4 separate regions of the Homo sapiens genome follow, and all the other regions are linked to region 3. The links are contacts of gene promoters, found by promoter capture Hi-C in human tissues and cell types (Jung and others, 2019). All regions are on one chromosome and are shown on one strand. Each heading gives the region's core, a stretch centred on a gene start or on the middle of the fragment in contact. The rest is flanking DNA. Distances are from core to core; before and after follow the strand shown. Region 1 holds the start of SPG21 (SPG21 abhydrolase domain containing, maspardin). Region 2 overlaps MTFMT (mitochondrial methionyl-tRNA formyltransferase). Region 3 holds the start of RBPMS2 (RNA binding protein, mRNA processing factor 2). Region 4 overlaps ZNF609 (zinc finger protein 609).

Region 1 (3,566 bases), core at 503-3,002, 210 kb after region 3:
CAGTGAGCTGAGATCACACCACTGCACTCCAGCCTGGGCGACAGAGTGAGACTCTGTCTCAAAAAACAAACAAACAAACAAACAAAAAAACCTGCCAGTTGTGACTATGCCCCTATCCCTCATGGCTTCAACAGAACCTGCCACTTTAAAGTCAACAAAATCACCTTTATCAATGTTTAAGTCACATAACCAGCATAATTAGTCAGAGGTTTCTGCTACTTTATTTCAATCTATAGTTGATGTGCATTGTGGAAAATCTGTGCTTATAAATACTAGCCATAACAAAATATTAGAAGCTGAGAGTCTCTGGGAGATGCAACTGGCTTTTTAATGCACGTCTCCATCCCTCACCACAGAAGTACACAGCTATCCTTTTCTTAGATCTCTTCAGGGGAGATCTATCCCTCTTTTCTTCATTGCATTATCTCTAAACCTTACAGGAGGAAAAGGTGCCTACCTGACATCTGTGACATCTCTTCTCATGCTCTTGGGAAAAAAGCTTTTGGAATTTGGACACAGCTATTAAGTTACTCCTCAGTGGCCAGCCGCGATGGCTCACGCCTGTAATCTCAGCCCTTTGGGAGGCCGAGGCGGGCGGATCACGAGGTCAGGAGATCGAGGCCATCCTGGCTAACACGGTGAAACCCCGTCTCTACTAAAAATACAAAAAATTAGCCGGGCGTGGTGGCGGGAGCCTGTAGTGCCAGCTACTCGGGAGGCTGAGGCAGGAGAATGGCGTAAACCCAGCAGACAGAGCTTGCAGTGAGCTGGGATGGCGCCACTGCACTCCAGCCTGGGCGACGGAGCGAGACTCCGTCTCAAAAAAAAAAAAAAAAAAAAAGTTACTCCTTAATTTGTTGAATCTTTGTGCCAAAAGGAGCTGAACCAGTGTAGGTGGAGACAAAGGAAGCAGCATAAATGTCTAACTTATAACTCCCCAGGAAAACGAGAAGAGGAAAAATGAGACACTCCGGTCCCGCTCTGTTCCTCATCCCCCGTTTACAAACCTTACACCTGGCCCACACTCAGTAACAACAAAGACATCTATCACTTTCAGGCCGAGGTCCTGTCTCCAAAATTACTGGCCTCTGCTCACAGTTCTTAAAAGTTTGCTGAGAAAAAAAAAAAGAAAGAAAGAAAGAAAGAAATGTTCCTGGGCTGCAGTCGTGTAGCCCCAGGATGGGTTTACAGGAGGATGCCCCGGTTAAGCCCTGTGCCGCCCCCACCTCCCGCTGGAGACTCACACACAGCTCCCCGCCAGTCCCACCGGTGACAGCCACACAAAGGCAGGGTCACAAGCACACCGACCACCCCACAGCCCAGATTCGGCCCCAGACACACACTCACAAGGGCACGTGATCACGTGCGTGGTCACATGGACCGGCCCACTCAGAACACACTCACAAAGTCACACCAACCAAGGCAGCCACGCGCCACACACACACACCTACAACCCCGCATACCGCACACCCAGCCGCTTCCCAGGGCTTCGCCCACCCTCACCTGCCGTGGCCGCCCCCACGTCCCTTCCCCTCCTTCAGGAGGCCGCTCTTCGCTCCAGTACGAGCGCGGGCCGTGGAGGCGGCTGGGCCCGGGTCGGGGCGGGCGGCGGAGCACTCGGGACCCACGGGCACAGCAGGCTGCGCGGTGCGTGCGGGAGGCCGGCCTCTGAGGGGGCGGGGCGCGTGGCCGAGCGAGCTTGGGCCGCCGCGCTCCCCCCGCCCGACCGCCGCTCAGCTGGCGCGAGACTCCCGCTTCCGGGTTCTCAGAGGGCGGGGCCACGTCGCGAGGAAGGGGCGGTGCTGCGTGGCCCCGGCGGTCGCCACGGCGACGGGCGCGGGGGGAGGCTCCGTGGGATGCTTGGCTGCGGCTGGCGTGAGGAGAGGGCTGAGTTACGTCTGGGTCAGCCTTAGTTCTGCCCTACGTACCTAGGAGGAGGAGGAGGTGGAGGAGGCGCCTGGCCCCTTGGGACCTGCTTCTTCTTTCAGTTCGCGTTTTCTCTGTCGTGTACAGCTTTGGAGGGACACCTTTGGGTTCCAGACTTTGATGAACACAACTTTGTATACTCTTTTCTTAGGAACATTTTTTTTCCTTTGGCACAACCGTAGACGCTCTCCGTAGTCCTCCACTCAAAGCCTCCGCTTCCTTTTTGACGTTCTGGGGATTTCTGGGAACATACGCCCACCCATCTTCCTGTTCCTTCATCACTTTTCCCTTAAAATCAGAGAGAATATTAATACATTTGTAATCATTGTTCTTAAGGTGTTGCAGACGTCACGTCTTAAGGTGTTCCAGACTTCACGACTCCTTTTTTATTAGTAAAATATTTCTGAAATTATGATAAGGTGAATAACATGTAAATCTCCTTGTTTTGAATTTTTTTTTTAGGGATCCTGCAACAAGGTCCTGTTGAAAGTGCCTCTCTCTAATATGTTTTAGGGAAAGCTTGTACCCTGTTTTAGGGCCTGTAGACTTTGCCTTTACCTAGGCAACTGTTTATGGGATTAAGGTCAGGGAAGATTCCAACTAAATTGCATCCTACTTAGTTATCACTTCTGTCCCCTGGCCCAGGAGCCTTGGGTTCCACTCTAGAACTTGGACAAATCCCAAAAGCATTTTCCAAAAGCACGGTGACATACTTACCTTTTTCTTTCTTTCTTTTTTTCTCTAAATCATTTCTTTCGGGGTTGCAACTCAGTCGCAGGAATTCATCTTTTATTGTAAGCACCACATAGATGTATAGAGCACGTTTCCGTGGAGTATTTTAAGTTGGGGGCCTTTTCTCCAACATTTGGAATCGTTTAATGGGTGGAATAACTTGCAAACTACTGGTTGTCTCTGAAACTGGTTATGGATATTCATTACATTAGTTGTCTATTTTCCCAGGTGGTCTCGAAGCTTCAATCTAGAGCAAAGGGAATAGAGTGATTCCACCAGTCCATTAGCACATGATTAGCCCATAAATAATAGGTACTAAATGTATATTGATTGTAATCCCAGCACTTTGGGAGGCCAAGGTGGACGGATCGCTTGATTGAGCCCAGGAGTTCGAGACTAGCCTGGGCAACCTGGGAGACCCTGTCTGTACAAAAAAATACAAAAATTAGCCGGGCGTGGTGGCGCATGCCTGTAATCCCCGCTACTCAGGAGGCTGAGATGGGAGAATCTGTTAAGCCCAGATGTCGAATCCACTGCACCACATCCTAGGTGACAAAGCGAGAGACCTTGTCTGCTCCCAACAAAAAACTATATTGAATGAATTAATGAGTGGAATAAATAAATCTATCCCCATTTCCACATTTGTTCCTAAAGCTGTATTCCTTAGACCCCATCCCTAGACCCCATTTAGTAACAGCTTTAATGAGACCTAATCTATGGATATACCCGTATGTTAAAAGTCATTGTTCTGTTAGTGTGGTAGTAAACTTTGACAATTGACAATAAAAAAAAATCACTATGTAGATATGTTTTGTTACATATCAACTTTTATTACAATGTAGACCAATCCAAAAATAATAAATGTTTTACTTCTTTCAGGAAGGGAAACCATGGTCATGTTTGTGTCC
Region 2 (3,226 bases), core at 510-3,009, 240 kb after region 3:
AGGATCAAAAAGGAAAACTGTAAAGAAATCTTAAATCTTACTTAGTATTTTTACTCTTAGTAGTAATATTGGTATTGTAATGCTGAAATGATGTTATGAATAGCAAATAAATAGGTTAATATTTAAAAAAAGATAGTGTGAGAAAATATAAGGAAAACCCTTTAATGATAAATTTGAATCATAAACAATATGAGCTTGAATATTTTTTAAAAATATAACTTCTAGTTTAGTCCACTGATACCTTATCTTGCCATACATTGTTGTACCAGATGATCTCTAATTATCAACCCCACTAAAATGAACAAAAGCTCCCTGGAAATCACACTGGTTGATTTCAGTGTGAGCCAGAGGACACATAGGCGAGCCTGGGACATACTGTGGTGGAAGCAAGGAAGCACTCCAAACTAGTGGGAAGTGAAGAGTGTTAACAGAATGTAGGAGCCAAATTTAAGGGGCTCCCACTGGGCAAATATAAAGAATTATGACTGTAAAACACAATCAATGAAAATCTACGCGTCAAATGATACTAAAAAGAACGCATCTGACACCAAAATTGAAGGCAATTAATGGCATCAACTTCTTATTCTAATTAAAGAGAAAGAATTAAGCCCCTGTCCCCATTTTAGGATGAACTAAAATTCACCTCCAATTAATGAGGAAAAACTCTTCTTTCCAGAACAATACCAGCTATTAAATGTAAAAGGAATTAGAAAATTGCCATTTTGTAATCCATAGTGAAATAATTCATTTGGGCAAGGAATATCAATCTGTACTAAAACCATCATGTGAAAGGTTGTTAGGGAACAGGATATCTGCACAGTGCCAGAGTATTAATTACCCCACAGATTACCTGCTAATTGCAAAAGGGAAAACACATCTTAACACTGGAAAGATCTGGTGGTCACCATCTCAACCAAGTGATCAAACTTAGCTTCACTTGCTTTAGTACAGTCTGATATCTTGGCTTACTCAAGTGGTACCTTAAGACTGTAGGGGACAAAAGTGAGACTTCTCTAGGTATATTAACTTTTGAATCAGCTATATGTTTTACATATTCAAAAAATAACATTTAATCATAAAGAAAAATAAAAAGTAATCCCTAAAATTAAAAACAAACTGAAACAAATGTTTATACTCCTAACTCTACTAAAAAAAACAAAAAAGAAGAAAACAAATGTCACTGAAACACACTCTTTCCAAAAACTTTAAGCCTGAATCCAGCCAAACCTTTAGAACTAATTATAGGAAATATAAGAGATAGGGAACAAGTTAAACAACACTGGAAGAAAACAAATCAAACAACTGGCCTGGTCTCTTCAAAAAGTCAATGACATAGAGAGAGGAAAAAAAGAGGAATTTTTTTTAGAGACTAAAGAGACATAACAACTAATTACAATTAAATCCTAGTTTGAAAAATAAAACTATAAAATAAATTTTTAGACAATTAGGAACACTTAAATATGAACTGAACATTGGATGCTATCAGGAAATTGTTCATTTTTCTTAGGAAAGGCATACTAAACTACTTAGAGATGAAAGATCATGATTCATACTTCCAAATGAATAAGCAGAATTTAAAATACACGTAATAAATACATAAAGAGAAAGAAAATATGGACAAACATTAATAATTGTTGACTCTGGGGTAAACTGGTGTTTATTATACCAGTCTTTCTATTTAATATTTTCAAAATCAAGAAGTTGGAAAAAAATGCTCAATCCTTCATGAGGCTATATGCTAAGAGGGAGAAAGAATGCTTTCTACCATTCTTTGGAAAAGCACACAAAAGTGGGCACTCAATCAAAATTAAGGGAAAAGTACAGCTAAGAAGTCAGAATGTTCAGATGCTATCGTGACAAGCAGAACCTTTAGAAAGATGAGAGTCTCTGCAGCCTTCACTCACCGTAAGTCGCCCCCTCCATTGGCTGCTGCCTTCCATTGCTCAGACTTTCAGGCAAATTTTTCAAAACTGAAATGAGCTACAAAAAAAAAAAAAAGAGTGTGATATATTCAAAATGAAGGGAAGAACAAAAGCAGAAACACATTACAATTCAGCACCATGAAATAACCTATAACTTTTTTTCTTTTTCTTTTTTCAAATTAAAAAAAAAATCTTTACTATTGGCTCTTCAAGGCTGAACCTATAACTTTAAAAGATCTATGTGGCAGGGTAAGGTAGTACATTGGCTTAAGCTGTGAGGATAGGTGTCTACTTGGGGAAACCTCAGTAGAGATTCTGCTTTCTGTAGAGTACAGGTCATTGATTCACTTCTAGAGAATGCTGTGGAAGCTTTGGCATCAGGATAGCCCGGGCTTGGCTATACACACTCTCACCCCATGGGGGCCAAGGCAGTGAAACCTCACAGGACAATGTACTATGGAGTCACCCAGCTCTGGGTTCAAGTCCTAGTTCTACCACCTACCAGCTGTCTCATTGTGGAAAAGTTATTTAGCTTGTCTCTGGCCTTCAATGTCATCATCTGTGAAACAATCAACAGCAACAACTACCTCAAAGTTGAGAGGGTAAAAAGAAAAAGTCCATACAGTATCTAGAACAGTTGTAGAACACAAGCCAATGTTCAATAAACGGCAGTCACTATTATAAGATCATTTGTGAGGTAAGTGCCTAGAATAGGAAATACCATCTCTACAGGTGGGAAAAAAATATTCCTCTGTATAAAATTAACCCGTTCATATGGAAAACATAAGTTTAGTCATTAAACATTTACCCAGACTCTACTCATGCAGTTTCAATGAATTATATATACAAAGCCACAGAAAAAAGAAGGATCATCTATAGGTAGAATGGTCAGCAGAATTCTAGTGCAAATGACTGAAGCCAGGCAAAGAAATGGAAGGAAAGCTAAGAGTCGCTTAGAAAATTGCTGTTAGTTCATTCTGACAGGGATGCAAGGTATACATACCAGAGTGCGGAGAGTGAAATTGAGAAGAATAGTCTAAGACCTCACTATGGCATGTAGTAGGTCATGTAAGATCACCTGTTTCACTTGAAAGCCTTTATTCAGTACTTACTCTTTGTAAATTCTCAAAGATTTACATGAGATCACAAATGCCAGGCTAATTTTTAGGAAGCCAAAGATAGAAATTACTCTTTTTTGTTTTTAAGAAAATTAGAAGTCACAAAATTGTTCTTCTTTTTATAACCACTTAGGAAACCCACTAAATGAGTAAAAAGCAGTAGGATATTGGGGAATTATACCATGT
Region 3 (3,428 bases), core at 61-2,560:
ACCCCTAGAATGACGCAGCAGAGGCCAGAGGCCCTGCGAAGCCTGTCCCCTTCTACTCCAGTTCTTGTCTCCGCCAGCCTAGCTCCTCGTCCCTATTCACTGATATCTTTGAGGCTTTTATCCAGCACCCCACCCCGCACACACATCCTCCCTACCATCCATTAACCACCCAGCTGCTGGTGGTTCCACGGAGCCGCCTTACACTCCCTCCCTTTCGCACATGGCCGGTGGACGAGATGATTTCGCCCCTCCTGGCAGGATCCCACCCAGGCCAGCTTTGGGGTCCTGGCTTGGTTGCCAGGACAAACCCAGAGAGAGGAGAAGGACGAACTGAGTGTCTTTAGTCATCTTCCAAACTAATTAAATTGTGGGCTCACCTCTGCCAAAGCCCAGGTTCTGGGGCTGTGAAGAAAGCCCGCCCACCCCCATGACAACAGCTCGCAGGAACCGAGGAGCCGGCCGGCCCAGGCCTCCAAGGTCACGGGGAGGGGGTCAGGGCGGAAAAGGCAGTGGAGTGAGGGTGCCGCCCTCGGGCCGTGCTAATCCCGCTCCGCTCCGTGCCGCCGAGGCGGGGTCCTGGCCACGCAGGAGGTGCGCCTCGGAGGAGGGCGGCGAGCGGCTACGGGGTGGGGAGCAAGGGGCGCGCGGGCGGCAGGCATGGAACGGACGCGGCGCATCTCGCCCACCGCGGGACGCCCGGACGGCGGCCGGCGCGCGCGGCCCGCCTCGAGCCCGAGAGGGCGGGGAGACAATGCCTGTCCGGCGGGGCAGTCCAGGCCGCACGCTCCCGCCCGCGGACACGGGCCGCTCCTACCCGGGCGAGAGGGCAGCGGCGGGAAGGCGCCGGGAGCGATGGCCACCCCGGCCCCGCGAGGCGCGGCAGGCCCCGCTCGCCCTCTCCCGCGCCCGCCTGGCGTGCGCTTCACCCGGCAAGTCCCGGGGCCACAGACCCACCTCCTCCTCCAGGGCGCCGCCGGAGCCCGCGCCGGAGCCGGTGCCGGTGCTGCCGCCGTGCTCGCCGTCCGGCTTCAGGTTGCTCATGGTGCGGGGGAGGGGGCGGCGGGAAGGAACGCGAGGGCGAGCGCGGCGCCGGCCCCGCGGGAAGTGGGAAGGGGCGCGGGGAGCGGTGCGCTCGCGGGTGCGGAGCGGGTGGCGGGGGACCCACGGGGCAGTGAGAGGGGCAGCCTCCGCGTCGGGCCAGGGTCACATCAAGTTTGGCGGGTGCGGAAGGTGGGGAGGGGGTGCGGCGGGGGAGGCAGTGGGAGCCGGAGGGGCCGCCGCCTCCGCCTTTTCACTGCGACCGGCGAGTGCGCCGCGGCGGCGGCGGCGGCGGCAGCGGCGGCGGGGGGCGGGCGCCGGGGGAGGGGGCGGGCGCCGGCGGCGGGGGGCGGGGCCGGAACCGGCCTCAGCTGGGGCCCGGCCAGCCCCCTCCCCCGCCCGCCGCGCGGTCTCCGGGGGAACGCGCAGCCAATCCCCACCGCCCACCGTGGGCTCGCCCCGGCCCCGGCCGCGGGGCGCCGGCCTCCGGCCGGGCCTTTCCCCTCTCTCTCGCCTGGGTCAGCGCTCTCCCTCTCTCCTCTTCCCCCGCGCCCTTCTCCACGGCGAGTTTTTAAACTTTGATGAACTCGCCCGGCGAACTTTCTTAAAGGGGCCGCGCGCTGCGCGCCCCAGCCCGCGGGAGGTGGAGCCCCGTGCCCCGCACCCAGCGCCCCGGTCCCTGGGCGGCCCTGCCCGGGCGGCCTCGCGCTTAGGGCACCCGCAGCGAGGTTTCCGGGCCGTCGACTCCCCTTGTATCTTGATCTAGGGTTTTGGGGTTCCCGACGCACTCATTCTGCCCCTAAATCCAGTCGCGCAGACCTCAGCTCCGGGGGACCGAGTTCTGGGGGTGATGGCCGGGGGGAGGGGGTTGGGAGACACCTGAGCTTTGGCCCGGGCTGGGCGCTGTTTTGCTGAGTGACCTTGAGGAAATCACTTCCCCTCTCTGGCCTCAGGCTCCCAGCCCAGAGGGTGGGACTTAGGATCTCAAACTCCCTTCCCACTCCCAGTCACTATCTGAATAGGACTTAGGTGGGGATTCGAGTGTTGGGACCCCAATGGTCATTAGCGAGGGCTGCCTCGAATGACCAAGAAGGTTCTGTTGCCCACCTTGCCCTCAACACGCCTGGCTTTCGGGTCTTCTCGCTCCTCCCCCGACCTCAGTGCCCCTCACACCTTTCCCTGCCTCCTATTCTGAGCCCGAAGGCTGGGGACGGATGTAATAGCCTAGAGGCTGGGGGAGGTGGGGGAGGTCGTCGTGACTCCCCCCGCACCCCCGCGCAGGTCAGTAGGGCGCGGCCTCTGGGTCGGTTTTCTCTTCTATTTGAAAACCCAGCCGATGGGGGCCCGCCCTGCTGCCACAGTAGAAACCCGCACCCACCTCGGGGAGCGCTGGAAGCGCTGCAGCCTGAATCCGGCAGAGCCGCGGGAGAACTGGGTCCCTCCTCAGTGCCCCTTCTCCTGGACGGGGCGGAGGTTGCGGTGACCCGAGATCTTGCCATTGCACTCCAGCCAGGGCAACAAGAGCGAAACTCCGTCTCAAAAAAAGAAAAGAAAAAAGAAAAGCTGGATTTGCAGTCACGGACTGGTTAGGATCCCAGACCGTGGACAAGTGCCTGAGCCCCCAGAACCTCTGTGTGTCGACCTCCTGAATTAGGTAGGACTAGCACCACAGGATCACTGTGCTGTGGCTTAGTCTTCCCAGTAAATTATAATCTCCATCCTGACCTGCCATCTCACAGATAAATTGAGGCCTAGAGATGGGCAATGTCTTTCCAATGATATACTCATTCCTTTAGTAAATAATTATTGAGCACCTACTGTGGGCTGGGGACCATTTTCTGCTGGTGGCAAGGCCAAGAGCACCCTGGTTTCCCATCAGCCCTGTTGCCAACACTTGGCTCAGGCCCTATGAAGAGGGAGCTGCTGCCTGTAGGAGCCAGACCTTTACCCAGAGTTTTTAAGATGCCTCCAGCCTCAGGCATCTCCAGATAGAACCAACCTTGGGAACCCTCAGATACCCCTACCATCCTCCACAGGCCTCAGTCCAATCTGGCTGTGGGCTTGATCACCATCCCCTCCCCTAGAATAGGTCTTCCTATCAGGTTTGTCTCTAACTTTGGCCCAGGAATACTCTTCCTCTTCCTCTTCCTCCCCCGCTCCCCCTAATCAATCCAAAATCTTCCCTTCCCTCAAGATCCTGCCTTTCCCATGCTTTTTCCAGGAGAAGGAGCCTGGCCAGATTTCTGAACTCAGCCATTATATGGTTAATTTGAATTTTTCAAAGAAGAGCCTCTCATCTTGTAATTCTGGTCACCCTTCTTCTCCATTCTGGTCTCTGTTTTCTCCATAGATGGGAGAGCTAAGGCCCAAAAAGGTGACAAATGACACAG
Region 4 (3,258 bases), core at 267-2,766, 170 kb before region 3:
TCTATTAGAAATACAAAATTAGCCAGGCGTGGTGGCACATGCCTGTAATCCCAGCTACTCGGGAGGCTGAGGCAGGAGAATCGCTTGAACTCGGGAGGCGGAGGTTGCAGTAAGCTGAGATCGCGCCACTGCACTTCAGCCTGGGCAATAAGAGTGACACTCCATAAAAAAAATAAATAAATAAAGTAAAAAATAAATAAATAAAGTAAAAAAAATAAATAAATAATAGAACTATCATTTACTGAATTTATTGGTGTCATATCAAGGAATAATATCCACAGTTATCTGAAAAGGCTATTAAATACAAACATTATATACATTATCTGTAAAACAACACACACATATACATATATCTGTACCATATATATTCTATGTAAGGCTGATTTTCTTTGTATACTTGAACCAAAACATTTCACCAACAGATTGAATGGAGAATCCAGCTGTCTTCTATTAAACCAGACATTGAAAATAATATGTTAATATTTAACAGGTTTTTTAATGTTATTTTAACTAACTTAAGGCATACTTTTTTTTTTTTTTTTTTTGGAGACAGAATCTCACTGTGTTGCCCAGGCTGGGGTGCAGTGGCGCGATCTTGGCTCACTGCAACCTCCGCCTCCCAGGTTCAAGTGATTCTGTTGCTTCAGCCTCCCGAGTAGCTGGAATTACAGGCATCTGCCACCACACCTGGCTAATTTTTGTATTTTTAGTACTGACGGGGTCTCACCATGTTGGCCAGGCTGGTCTTGAACTCCTGAACTTAGGTGATCCACCCTCCTTGGCCCCCCAAAGTGCTGGGATTACAGGCGTCATCTACTGCACCTGGCCTTAAATGTTTTCTTCTTTCTTTCTTTCTTTCTTTCTTTCTTTCTTTCTTTCTTTCTTTCTTTCTTTCTTTCTTTCTTCTTTCTTTTCTTTCTTTTTTTTTTTTTTTTTTTTTGAGACAGAGTCTCACTCTGTTGCCCGGGCTAGAGTAGGGTGGCAGGATCTCGGCTCACTGCAACCCCCTCCTCCTGGATTCAAGCAATTCTCCTGCCTCAGCTTCCTGAGTAGCTGGGATTACAGGCATGCGCCAACATGCCCGGCTAATTTTTGTATTTTTAGAAGAGATGGGTTCACCATGTTGGTCAGGCTAGTCTCGAACTCCTGACCTCAGGCAATCCGCCCGCCTTGGCCTCCCAAAGTGCTAGGATTACAAGCCTGAGCCACCATGCCCAGCCAAATTATTTCTTATTTTAATTCTAGTCTGGTAAACATCAGTCAATTTATCCCACATAAATAAAAGTTCTTTGGGGTTCTTAACTTTTTTAAAATCTTTTTGTTTTAATATAATTGTATTTGTAATACAGTACTCTCATGTACCATGTACCCTTTTCCTAGGTTTCCCCAATGATAATATCTTGCAGAACTCTAGCACAATATTGCAACTGGGATGGTAATATTGATGCATTCACCTATTGTGTTCAGATTTCCCCCATTTACTCGTACTCATTTGTGTGTTTTTCTGGGTGTGTGTAGTTCCATACAGTTTTGTCCCATGTATAAGTTCATGTATCCACCACCCAGTCAAGATACAGAACAGTTACATCACCACATCACCAAAAAGATCTCTTGTGTTGACTATTTACAACTACATTTACCTTTCTTCCACCTTCCCCTGCCCACCCCTAATCCCTGGCAGCTGCCAATCTGTTCTCTTTGTCTCTAATTTTATTTCAAAATTGTTATATGTGTGTATGCATGCATGCGTGTGTGTGTGTGTGTGTGTGTGTATTTTTTTGATACAGCATCTCACTTTGTCCCCCAAGCTGGAATGCAGTGGCATGATCATGGCTTACTGCAGCCTCAACCTCCTGGGCCCAAGCGATCCTCCCACCTCAGCCTCCTAAGTAGCTGGGACAACAGGCATGTGCAACCATGCCCAGCTAATTTTTTTTATTTTTAAAGATGGGGTCTTCCTATGTTGCCCCTGCAGATCTGGAAATCCTGGGCTAAAGCATTCTACCCACCTCAGGCTCCCAAAGTGCTGAGATGATAGGCGTGAGTTACCACACCCAGCCCTGTTACTTGCATGTTTTAGTTTTAATTTTTCTTTCTTTCTTTCTTTCTTTCTTTCTTTCTTTCTTTCTTTCTTTCTTTCTTTCTTTCTTTCTTTTTTTCTTTCTTTTTTTTCTCTCTCTCTCTTTCTTTCTTTCTGTCTGTCTGTCTTTCTTGTCCTTTCTTTTACTTTCTTTCTTATCACTCTGTCGCCCAGGCTGGAGTGCAGTGGTGCAGTCTCGGCTCACTGCAACCTCTGCTTCCTGGGTTCAAGCAATTGTCATGCCTCAGCCTCTCGAATATCTAAGAGGCTAATTTTTGTTTTTGTTTGTTTGTTTGTTTGTTTTTTAGTAGAGATGGGGTTTCACCTTGTTAGCCAGGATGGTCTTGATCTCCTGACCTCATGATCCACCCTCCTCGGCCTCTCAAAGTGCTGGGATTACAGGCATGAGCCACCGCGCCCGGCCGTATTTTTTTATAGAGACGGGGTTTCATCATGTTGTCCAGGCTGGTCTTGAACTCCTGACCTCAGGTGATCCACCCGCCTTGGGCTCCCAAAGTGCTGGGATTACAGGCGTGAGCCACGGTGCATGGCCTCATTTTAATTTCTAATATGTTAAATATCAAGGGATATAGCCTACCTAAACCAAGGCTCTTTAAGGTTCTCATTTTTTTTTTTTATGGGACTAGGTATAAGAGGGGGAAAATATGTTAAGTATATGAAAAAAATAAGGCCGGGTGTGGTGGCTCACACCTGTAATCCCAGCACTTTGGGAGGCCAAGGCGGGTGGATCACTTGAGGTTAGGAGTTCAAGACCAGCCTGGCTAACACGGTAAAACCTCGTCTCTACTAAAAATGCAAAAATTAGTCCAGTGTGGTGGCATGCACCTGTAGTCCCAGCTGCTCGGGAGGCTGAGGCATGAGAATTGCTTGAACCCAGGAGTCAGAGATCAAGCCACTGCACTCCAGCCTGGGTGACAGCATGAGATGCTATCTCAAAAAATAATAATAATAATAAGGTTCTCAGTTTTTAAGAATTTCCTGCAAGGTGAAGTGTCACACCTGTAATCCTAGCACTTTGGGAGGCCAAGGCACAAGGATCTCTTGAGCCCAGGAGTTCGAGAGCAGCTTAGGCAACATAGGGAGACCCCCATCTTTACAAATTTAAAAATTAAAAATTGAGCAAACCAACGCAGAAACAGAAAACCAAATACCACTTG

Evidence for each region. The method cuts DNA at HindIII sites, captures the fragments that hold promoters and counts their contacts. A contact is called where the count stands out against the background at its distance.
Region 1: a contact is called between the fragment with the promoter of SPG21 here and the fragment with the promoter of RBPMS2 in region 3, in 3 of the 25 tissues and cell types used here (IMR-90 fibroblasts, mesenchymal stem cells and spleen).
Region 2: a contact is called between a fragment that was not itself captured here and the fragment with the promoter of RBPMS2 in region 3, in 2 of the 25 tissues and cell types used here (mesenchymal stem cells and thymus).
Region 4: a contact is called between a fragment that was not itself captured here and the fragment with the promoter of RBPMS2 in region 3, in 1 of the 25 tissues and cell types used here (mesenchymal stem cells).

The regions. Positions count from the first base shown.
Region 1 is chr15:64,988,162-64,991,727 of GRCh38, forward strand. It overlaps SPG21 (SPG21 abhydrolase domain containing, maspardin), which reads right to left and starts at 1,753. Exons shown (of 9, transcript NM_016630.7): 1 at 1,504-1,753. RefSeq lists enhancers at 960-1,461, 1,462-1,961, 2,017-2,086, 2,127-2,186 and silencers at 1,190-1,484, 1,287-1,336, 1,457-1,946. The HindIII fragment of the contact is 3,841 bases long and covers 1-2,671 here.
Region 2 is chr15:65,018,293-65,021,518 of GRCh38, forward strand. MTFMT (mitochondrial methionyl-tRNA formyltransferase) reads right to left here. Exons shown (of 9, transcript NM_139242.4): 4 at 3,222-3,226; 5 at 1,905-1,980. Among named protein-coding and RNA genes, the nearest start is that of MTFMT, 9.7 kb to the right of the region's middle. The HindIII fragment of the contact is 9,263 bases long and covers 1-3,226 here.
Region 3 is chr15:64,774,279-64,777,706 of GRCh38, forward strand. RBPMS2 (RNA binding protein, mRNA processing factor 2) reads right to left here and starts at 1,311. Exons shown (of 8, transcript NM_194272.3): 1 at 955-1,311. The coding sequence starts at 1,041. RefSeq lists enhancers at 1,172-2,018, 2,019-2,864 and a silencer at 1,487-1,736. The HindIII fragment of the contact is 13,175 bases long and covers 1-3,428 here.
Region 4 is chr15:64,606,977-64,610,234 of GRCh38, forward strand. All of the region lies in intron 2 of ZNF609 (zinc finger protein 609), which reads left to right. All of the region lies in intron 3 of LOC101930091 (a long non-coding RNA gene), which reads right to left. Among named protein-coding and RNA genes, the nearest start is that of OAZ2, 95 kb to the right of the region's middle. The HindIII fragment of the contact is 4,700 bases long and covers 1-3,258 here.